Linked DNA regions of Homo sapiens: regions 2 and 3 are each linked to region 1. Evidence: promoter capture Hi-C in 16 types of primary human blood cells and fetal thymus (Javierre and others, 2016). All regions are on one chromosome and are shown on one strand. The core of a region is centred on a gene start or on the middle of the fragment in contact, and the rest is flanking DNA. Distances in the headings are between cores, read along the strand shown.

Region 1 (3,232 bases), core at 434-2,933:
AGAAAGCAAAGGAAAAAAAAAATGGCTATTCCATAGGCAGAGCAACGGCTTGAGCTGCTGGCCTAAGGATACCTATAGTTATTTCTTGATTACAGCTAAACAAGGGGTGGATTATTCACAAGTTTTCCAAGGAAAGGTGTAGGCAATTCCCAGGGCTGAGAGTTCCTCCCCATTTTAGACCCATATAAGGTAACTTCCAGACGTTGCCATGGCATCTGTACACTGTCATGGCACTGGTGGGGGTGTCTTTTAACATGATAATGAATTATAATTAGCATATAATGAGCAGTGAAGACGACCAGAGGTCACTGTATTCATCATCTTGGTTTCTGGTGGGTTTTGGTTGGCTTCACTACTGCAACCTGTTTTATCGGCAAGGTCTTTATGACTTGTTTTTCCTGCCTGTGGACCTTCTATCTCACTCTGTGACTAACCTCCTGGGAATGCAGCCCAGTAGGTTTCAGCCTTATTTTACCCAGCCCCTATTCAAGATGGAGTTGCTCTAGTTCAAACGCCTCTGACAACTAGTCACCCTGCTGTGCTATCAAATACTTGATATTATTCATTCTTTCTAACTGGAATAATATTTTTTAAATAGTAAAGAGTGAGATACATGAACTCCAAATATCTGAGACAGGTCACAATCAACTCAGAAAGTTTATTTAGCCAAAGTTAAGAACTTGCATCCATGACATGGCACAGATCCTGACAACATGCGCCCAAGGTGGCTGGGGCACAGCTTGGTTTTACACATTTTAGGGAGACATGGGGCAGCAATCAATATATGTAAGATAAACATTGGTCTGATCTGGAAAAGCGGGGCAACTCCAAGTGGGGAGGAAGTTCCAAGTCATAGGTAGATAACAGACAGTTGCATTCTCTTATGAGCCTCTCCAAATGAGGCAATCAGACATGCATTTATCTCAGTGAGCAGAGGGGTGACTTTGAATAGAATGGGAGGCAGGATTCCCTAAGCAGTTCCCAGTATGACTTTTCCCTTTAGCTTAGTGATTTGGGGGTCCCATGATTTATTTTCAATTCATAAGATATAAAAAAGATATAAAAAAGAAAGGTACACCTGAGTAAATATCTACTCAACAGGGAAGCAGGATACATGTTCTCTTTGCTTTCCCTGTTTCCTTGATAGCCATGCACCTTATGTTTATATTCCTCATTATTTGATGAAGTTAATCATTGCAATAAGAGAAATACGAAAGACTCTAGAACTCTAGACACGAAAGCAATTATACAGCCTTTATGACACGCAAATTTATTCACTCTGTAAAAAAAAAGTAATTACTTTCGGTAGGGTCTCCCATGTATCTTCCAAAAGGCAGACTGCTCTGGGTGCATGTAAAAATTAACACGATACCCTATACAAAAGGGAATGCTCAGAGTTAACAGCTAGAGAAGAGAGGCGCCAATCTTAGACACAGGCTTATTCCTCCGCACCCTCCCCCAAAACAAATGGAGGACAGAAGAAAAAAGAAAAGTAGTTAATACAACTATTACTCTACGGAAATATTAGGGGTAGCGCAAACAAAGTTCTGACACTAAACTTTACTGAGCCCTGCATCCTGCCCACGACCCCCCCAGAAACACCTACGCACCACTCTCCTAGCCGCCGCAGCCCCGCCAGTCTCGCCGGGAGGAACCCCCAGCGCCGCGGTACAACCACGGCACTTCCGCCCGCCCCCCGCGCCTCGGGCGCAAGCGTTTGGTGTGTCTGCGTCGGGGGCGGAGCCTCTTGTCCCTCTGCGCGGCCCGTTCCGCCTCTCTTCTCCCACCGCCTGTCGGCTGACGTGTCTGCAGTTCCTCCGCGTCTACTGCGAGTCAGGCCGTGATGGCGGACGCCTGGGAAGAGATTAGGCGGTTGGCGGCCGACTTCCAGCGGGCGCAGTTCGCCGAGGCCACGCAGAGGTGCCCGACCCTCCCTCTCCTTTGTGGAGCCCAAATTAGGCCGTGGGCGGACACGCCTGTATCTGGGACTTTAGACCCGCGGCCCTGCATCCCGGGTCTTCTCGCTGCTTGTCACCATTCTCTCCTCCTCCCTCTGTCCCGAGCCTGGATCGCAGTTCCAAGTCCAAGGCTCGGCGGGAAAGTCCTCAGCCTAGGACGCCCTGGAGCCCCCCAGCCCAGCTGCAGCGAAATGCTGGCGCGCCCCGCCCCACCATGGACGGGGCCGGTGATTTCGAGCTGCCTTTATTGAGCATTTCTTTGACCCTCCCTCACCCACCAACCACCAAATCACTGTGACATCTTGGCTATTATACACTTCCTGATCTAGAATGAGCTCGAAAGGAGAGGCTAACCCCCGCCCCCAGTACAGTACTTGGCAAATAGTATGTTGATCCTTAAAACTTCTTGCCCTTTTATCTCTCGTAACAGACCTAGGGCTAGACCCCTGACCCCATCTGTTATTCAGGGCACTGACATTTTCTACAAGCCCACTAACCTTTGGAGGATGTGTCCAGAGGAGCCTAACTCTGCTTTTTAAAAATAACGCTAATAGAAGCCTTTCTATTCTTTGACTACTTCCTACCTGCGATGTTTTATTCCTTTTGAGCCGGAAGACAGCAATCCCCTTATGCTGTATTTTCTACCACTGATAGCAAACTCGTAACTGCATGGGTAACTAACGTGGGTAAAAGTTATGGTTTCACTAGGCCACATCCCCTGCCTGCTTGCAGACCATGTGTGTAAGTGAGGCAATTATGCACTTAATTTAAAAGAAAATTCTGATTAAACTGGAAATTAGGGCATTTTTTGTTTTGTTTTGTTTTGTTTTTTCTTTTTTCCTACCTAAATAAATGTCTTCAATTTTCCCTTCAGATTTGAAGATTGGAAGCAGGCCTGTAAGAGACAACAGACTTGAAATTTGTGATGGGATGATGTGTACCAATTAAATAAATGATTTAAGCATATGTAAACCTACTTACTCTGAAAGGTTTTTTTTTAACTTATTGAATCAGTTAGTGAAAAATACAGATATTGTGATGTAGAAGTTAGTGACTAAACAAACTTTTTAAAAGCCTGTTTTCATACATTGTATTAATTTTATTGAGCGCCAATGTCTCAAGTGGACTTTTGAAACAACTTTTTTTCTTTCCCTCAGGTTGTCCGAGCGGAACTGCATTGAGATTGTTAATAAATTGATTGCTCAGAAACAGCTAGAAGTAGTTCATACACTCGATGGAAAGGAATATATTACTCCAGCCCAAATTAGTAAAGA
Region 2 (3,232 bases), core at 503-3,002, 3.0 Mb after region 1:
TGCTGGGATTACAGGTATGAGCCATGGTGCCCCACCAATTCCACACCTATTAACAATTAGCTATGTTTGTTTTTATCTAAATATCAATATGTGTGTATAGAGAGACACATATATGTATGTGAGTGTGTGTATATATATATATATATATATATATATATATATATATATATACACATAGTTGAACTATTTGAAAGTTGTAGAGATCTTGACAGTTCATCCCTAAATACTTCAGCATGTATCTCTTAAAAATAAGCACATTCTCCTATATAACAATGTAATCATATCTAAGAAAATTAATAATTTTCTAATATCATCTCATATTCCATCATATTCTAATTTCCTTAGTTGACCCTAAATTGTCTTCTATAGCTGGTTTTTTGAAAAAGATTCAATCAAGGTTTGCACTTGATATTGGTTATGTCTCTTTAGTATCTTTTAATCTATTAACAGAACAGTTCTTCCAACCTGTTACTTGCCTAAGACTTTAGCTTTTTAAAGAGATCAGGCCAGTGCATGAGTCACCTTGAGGGTCTTGTTAAAATGAAAGTTCTGATGCAACAAGTCTGGCACAAGACCTGAGATTCTACCTACCTAAAAAGCTTCTAACTGAAGCCACTGCTGGGGGCCCATAGAATACTCTTTCGACAGCAAAGTTATATAATGTCTCACACTGAATTTGTCTCTTTCTTCATAGTGTTATTTACCTCTATCCCTTATATTTATTAAAAATTCAGTTAATTATCAAAGATTTTAGATACAAGCTAAGCATTTTTTAAAACTACTATATTTTGGAGTCTCTGTTAGAGTAGCTTGGCCTACCTTTTACTCTCCTGCCTGGTGGCTAAGCAACATCGCAATTTTCATGGTTGCTGACTTACTTCTCAATGATCAAGGTAATGAATCTTTCAATTCAGTACTAAATTCCAAATCTTGATTTATTCATTCCATAATTCACAATAAGGGAGCTTTCAAGTTTACCATTAAGTCCAACGGTCATCACTACTGAACTAAGTTGCAATAAATTAAGGGCTTCCGGGTTAGGAACATGTAAAAAGCCTCTGAGTTCCTTGAGCACTTCATCTCTACCTTCTCCCTCCAAACTTCCTCATCTACTCTCCCCTACAGTTCCACCTTATAAAATCACTAATTTAAGTATCCCCTTCTCTGACAGCAACTTCCCAGTTCTTCCAACTTGCCTGATCAGCCACTCATATTTTCCTATAGTGTCCAGGCTGACAAGAGGCTGCATCTCAACAAGTCCTTCCATGACCCTTACAGCAGGGCAGGGAGAAGTGGAAATGGCAAATGGAGAGCTGCTTCCTAAAGCAAGTCACATGGCACATTTAACTTCAAGCAGACATGGAGAGGGGTTGCCCATGTACAAAGAGTGCAGCATTACATGTACCCAAAAATAGGTGAACCGGAATACTTGTGCAGAGCCTTAAGGACTACATCACCTCTCTCGCAGAACCCAATCCTAGATGAACCCAATTAACCATTTTCTCCATGTCGGGAGAAAGTCTCTTAAGAAAGCAGACTAGGTCCATTATTATTCACTTCACCTTCTGGTCAACTTACATACTATCCACAGAGCCATTTCAAATCTTCTTCACTTTCCTCAAACCTCTAACCCCTCCAACTCCCAACTAACTTACCAAAAACTGATCTAGTCTTTTATAAGGGAAAAGAGACATAAGCAGACGGCAAATTTGATCTTTCTAACCCCAAATTTGCAAACCTACCTCCATCAATTTAAATTTGATGTCCTGAAAAGAGATAGGTATAACTAATAAAGTACAGGGAAAATGGCCTATGAGAAACTGATTATATTTTCTCGCTGTGGTACAGATAAGCTCTTGATAAAGATGAGCATTAACACAGATAATGCTAGCAAAATAATAAACAAAACCAGGCATTTGACCTACATACTGTAAGCAACCTGTGCCTTTTTTCAAAAACACTGACTCAAAATTAACTTGGTAATGTAGAGGCAATTTCTGATGATTTTTCTGCCATATGTAATGTCTAAACAGACAGAATCATTTGGTACAGTAACCCAGAATTCGGCAATTATTTATCTGTAGTTTTCCAATTTCCATTTGAGGCAAAAGGGCAAAATTAAAAGTCCAATTATTAGAGCTTCCAATACTTTTTATCATCAAAATTGTGTCTGGGCACTGGAGACTGGGAAGGATGGGAGTGGGGTGAGGAATGAGAAATTGCTTAATGGACACAATGTACATTATTCAGGTGATGGTTACACTAAAAGCCCAGTACCACTAGGAAATATATCCTCGTAAAAAAACGGCACTTATATCCCTTACCTTTATACAAATTTACAAAACTGTGGCTGAGGATCTCCGTGATCTCCCCCACATTTAGAGCTTTGATAGGATGCACGGGACTCAACATATAGTTGAATTCATGGCTGACATTTATTACACAATGCAGTATGGATATAAAGGCTCATCATAATAGAAAAAGACACAAGCGGAGTCTGGAGGAATCACGTGTAGGCTCCTTATGCGGTCTCCCTCCCAAGAGGGGTCAAACAAAACACATCCTTCCTCCATCAGTGAAAATGCAGCAGTTTCCGCGCAGGGAAGCCCATTAAAGACTTGGTGTCCCGGATTTTTACAGAAGCTGGTAATTTCGGCATAAAACATACTGTTCAGCACAAACCCAAAAATCTAAGTTCCCAGATGCCAAACAAGCACCAACATTGCAAGCAGTCCTTTCTAAGGATAGCAGTCTTAAGGCCTGCTATGTTAACTCTTTTTAGCACAAATATGTTCTGGCCATTTTTCTCATGCGGTTTTCCAAACAATAAACTTTACAGTTTTCAAGTCACCATCACTTAACACTTGTCTTTTCTCTAAAGTAGGATGTGCAACTAAGTTGTTTAGAAAGCTTTGTTTTTAAACAGGCTATGCAAAAAGCCCATATCCTTAAGAAAAAAAAATCCTTTTTTCCTACTCTTGGGCAATTATTTATGGGGGTTGGAAAGAGAAGAAAAGGTCACTATCTCCTTTTATATACCAAGCTCAAAAAGATGAGCAGCACTTATGGTTTTGCTGTGTATCACGCTCAGTTCTAAGCACTTCACAAATATTAACCCACGCAACCCTCACAACCACCTTAGGAGATAAGTTGCTATTATTTTCCGCATTTTACACTTGAAACTGAGAAAGAGAAGTGAAGTGACTTGCAGAGGTCCCAAAGCCAGTAAGCG
Region 3 (3,232 bases), core at 389-2,888, 2.4 Mb after region 1:
TTTAGTATGCACCTATCACACATATATGTTCTTATAACATTGAAAGAAATCTTTATTCAAGATTCTGATCATGCTGATTTCTTGGTATAAACTGAGTTGCTTGAGTAATCATTTCACAAATTTGTCATGATCTTGTCCTTTCGACTTTGTGGGCCAAAAAACATGATTTTGTCATTTAACTCAGAATTGACCAAGCTCTTCACTGGTTAATTTTTTTTGAACAGATGCATAAACTTTTATGAAATAATGGTGATGACAGGTAACATTGGCATTTTGTTTGTCTTTTTACTGTATGTTAATTTAGCAAAGTAAATAATCTGACAAGTCTATGAGTTCCCTAATTTTTATGATGATTATTATGTTACTAGTTTATTGTGACTGACTCCTCCCACCTGAACTCCATTCACATGCACATCCCCCATCTCATCAGTTCTATGTGCCACCCTGCAGATGGGCTTGCTTTGCTCCTAAGGGTTTACACTTACAACCTTCTTCACAGAACTACCTTGGGCTTCATCTAGGGAGTGACATGTGCCTAGAAGATTGACAGTCCCCCTTTCCCACCCTTCCAGCCCATGGTAAAAGTCTGGCTGGTGCAGGAGTATAAGGGCCCAGCTCTCTAGCAACTTTGCCTCCCAGCAGACTGGGACTTCACATGATATTGCATCCTTGCTTGATTTTTCCCATCATGCTTTCCCTACTCCTTTACTAGCTTCTCCTAGAGTATCTTCATAAAAAAATTTCCACAAAAATTTCCATAAAAATTGCACAGGAATAGTCACCTCAAGATATTCTTCTGGGAAGCTGGATCCAAAAAAATCTATAAAATCCCAAAGTCTAGAAACCCCTAGTTTAGATCTTAAGAATGTTACTCCCATGTCTCCAGTTGCCAACAGCTTATTCTCTGCATTCTTGGACTTTTCTCACTTCTTCAAACACCATGATCTTAGCTCATGATCTCACGTTCAAATGTGCTGTTGTCTCTCCTCCTTTCCTATCCACACTGGAGCCTCACTCAACCCTCAGGTCCCAGGTAAGTCACTTCCCCAGGGAAGCCTTCTCTGAGCCCACAGATTAGGTTCTCCCCTCTGCCAATACATGTTCCTCATGGTCCTCTTCTAGGCTGGCCTGTAAGCTCAAAAAAGAGCCATCTCTGTCTGACTCTCTACTTGGTTCCTAGCAGTGAACTGGCAGAGAGGGTGTTCAATAAATGTTTCTGATTGTATAAAAAATTCACCCAAATGTTAACAGTTACTGAATCTGGGCAGAAGAATTACAGATTTTTTTCATATATATTTTCCTTTTTTTTTGGTATTTTCTAGATTATTTTTAAACAATGAAACATCTATTGATTTCATAATCAGTAAAATTTAAAAAGGCTTTTTCTTATATCTTAATAATATATTGGTCACCTTTTTTTCTCTTAAAATGTAATGGTATTTTCAGTAGACTAAAGCTGAAAATCAGTAAAGAAAATTAGAGATACAGGTATAAATAAAGTTTTAACTTTAATCACAACCATATACCAGTAACTCTCAGTAACCCAAGAGCATGATTTGTACTTAAAATTAGTTATGCAGCTGTTAAGTTTTAGACTGGAGAAAACACATTACATGTTCCATTGATCTCCTCCCTAAATCTTTTCAGATTTTTGGAAAAAAGTAGGTAACTTTGTAAGAAGAATGTCAGAGTCCTAATAAAACAATTCTCATATAAGAAAAGATCCTGCCATGCACAGTGGCTCCCATCTGTAATTCCAGCACTTTGGGAGGCCGAGGCAGGCGGATCACCTGAGGTCAAGAGTTCGAGACCAGCCTGCCCAACCTGGTGAAACCCCATCTCTATTAAAAATACAAAAATTAGCCAGGCATGGTGGCACGCACCTGTAATCCCAGCCGCTCAGGTGGCTGAGGCAGGAGAATCTCATTAACCCGAGAGGCAGAGGTTGCAGTGAGCCAAGATCGTGCCACTACACTCCAGCCTGGGCGACAGAGTGAGACCCTGTCTCAAAACAAAACAAAAGATCCTACTCCATTTTTTCCTCTTAGGGAGAAAACAAAAATCTGATTTTAATTAAGGTATGCTGGCTTTCTGAGTTTAAAAAACGACTAATAACATTATTTGCAATGAATTATTAGGTAGTTCTGGAAAAAAAAGTAAAGATTATACCAGCAATCTCCAAGTTGAGCTGTACTCTGTATGTTTTCTGGCAGGCCCTGGAAGTATTCCCTTAGAGATGAGGGGACAGAGATATCAGAGGAGCTGCATGTTACGGAGGTAGCAGCTGACCTCTGCCCGCCTCCTCCTGCACTGGCAGCTGGCCATCCCTACAGTTGAACAGGTGCCCTGATCTGCTCTCAGGCTAGAATGAGAGCGGGAATTTTTATTTATTTTGTTCACTGCTCGCTGACACATCTCTAATACCTAGAACAACACCTAGCACATTAGGTAGGCACTAAAATATTTAATGAACGAGTGATTTAATAAAGTGATATGAAGTCCTAGAAACTGCTAAGATCCATGAGTAATAGAAAAAATGAGCAAATAATATGATCAGATAGTTAAAGGAAAAAGAAATATAAATGGCTTTTAAACATATGAAAAGATTTCAACCTCAGAGATAATAAAAGAATTTTAACAGTTAACATGAGATAACATTTTTCACCTATTAAATTGCAAAAATATTGAAATTTATAAACATACTCTGTAGGCGAGGCTTTGGCAAAACACCCATGTACATGCCCTGCTAGTGGGAATATAAATAGTACAGACTCTTTGGAGAGAAATTTGGCATTACATATGAAAATTACAACTGTTAAAAATTAAAATTAAATGTAACTAAGAATAAATTGTTAAAATGCAAAAAAAAAATGTTAAACATTACAAAATTATCAAATTATCCTTGGTTGAGTAGCCTTCTTCTAGGAAATTTATCCCACAGATATACTTGCACACATGCAAAGTGACTTATGATAAGGTCATTCCCTGCATTAATGTTTATAAGAGCAAAAGACTAGAAACAACTAAGTGCCCATCAATGGGGGACTAGTTAATAAGTTGGGGTTCATACACACTATGCATTACTTGCAAATGCAGGAAAGAATGAGGAAGCTCTCTTTGTACTTACAAGAAAAGATCCAACATATACTACTGTGTGAAACAAGGTACAGAACAGTGTGATAAATATGCTTACTTTTGTGTATAAAAATATAAAATTATATTTGTATTTGCT

Evidence for each region. Contacts are between HindIII fragments. The CHiCAGO score rates a contact against its expected background, and 5 or more counts as called.
Region 2: a contact is called between a fragment that was not itself captured here and the fragment with the promoter of UFL1-AS1 in region 1, in 1 of 17 cell types (non-activated CD4 T cells). The highest score is 5.8, in non-activated CD4 T cells.
Region 3: a contact is called between a fragment that was not itself captured here and the fragment with the promoter of UFL1-AS1 in region 1, in 1 of 17 cell types (non-activated CD4 T cells). The highest score is 5.6, in non-activated CD4 T cells.

Annotation. Positions count from the first base shown.
Region 1 is chr6:96,520,031-96,523,262 of GRCh38, forward strand. It overlaps UFL1-AS1 (UFL1 antisense RNA 1), which reads right to left and starts at 1,684. Exons shown (of 4, transcript XR_007059687.1): 1 at 1-1,684. It overlaps UFL1 (UFM1 specific ligase 1), which reads left to right and starts at 1,776. Exons shown (of 19, transcript NM_015323.5): 1 at 1,776-1,920; 2 at 3,116-3,232. The coding sequence starts at 1,844. RefSeq lists enhancers at 1-492, 493-1,364, 1,365-2,236, 1,381-1,570, 2,237-3,108. The HindIII fragment of the contact is 5,811 bases long and covers 1-3,232 here.
Region 2 is chr6:99,511,717-99,514,948 of GRCh38, forward strand. All of the region lies in intron 1 of USP45 (ubiquitin specific peptidase 45), which reads right to left. Among named protein-coding and RNA genes, the nearest start is that of USP45, 2.1 kb to the right of the region's middle. RefSeq lists an enhancer at 2,715-3,232. The HindIII fragment of the contact is 2,311 bases long and covers 598-2,908 here.
Region 3 is chr6:98,922,549-98,925,780 of GRCh38, forward strand. The region is part of intron 4 of FBXL4 (F-box and leucine rich repeat protein 4); the gene reads right to left. Among named protein-coding and RNA genes, the nearest start is that of FBXL4, 24 kb to the right of the region's middle. The HindIII fragment of the contact is 5,637 bases long and covers 1-3,232 here.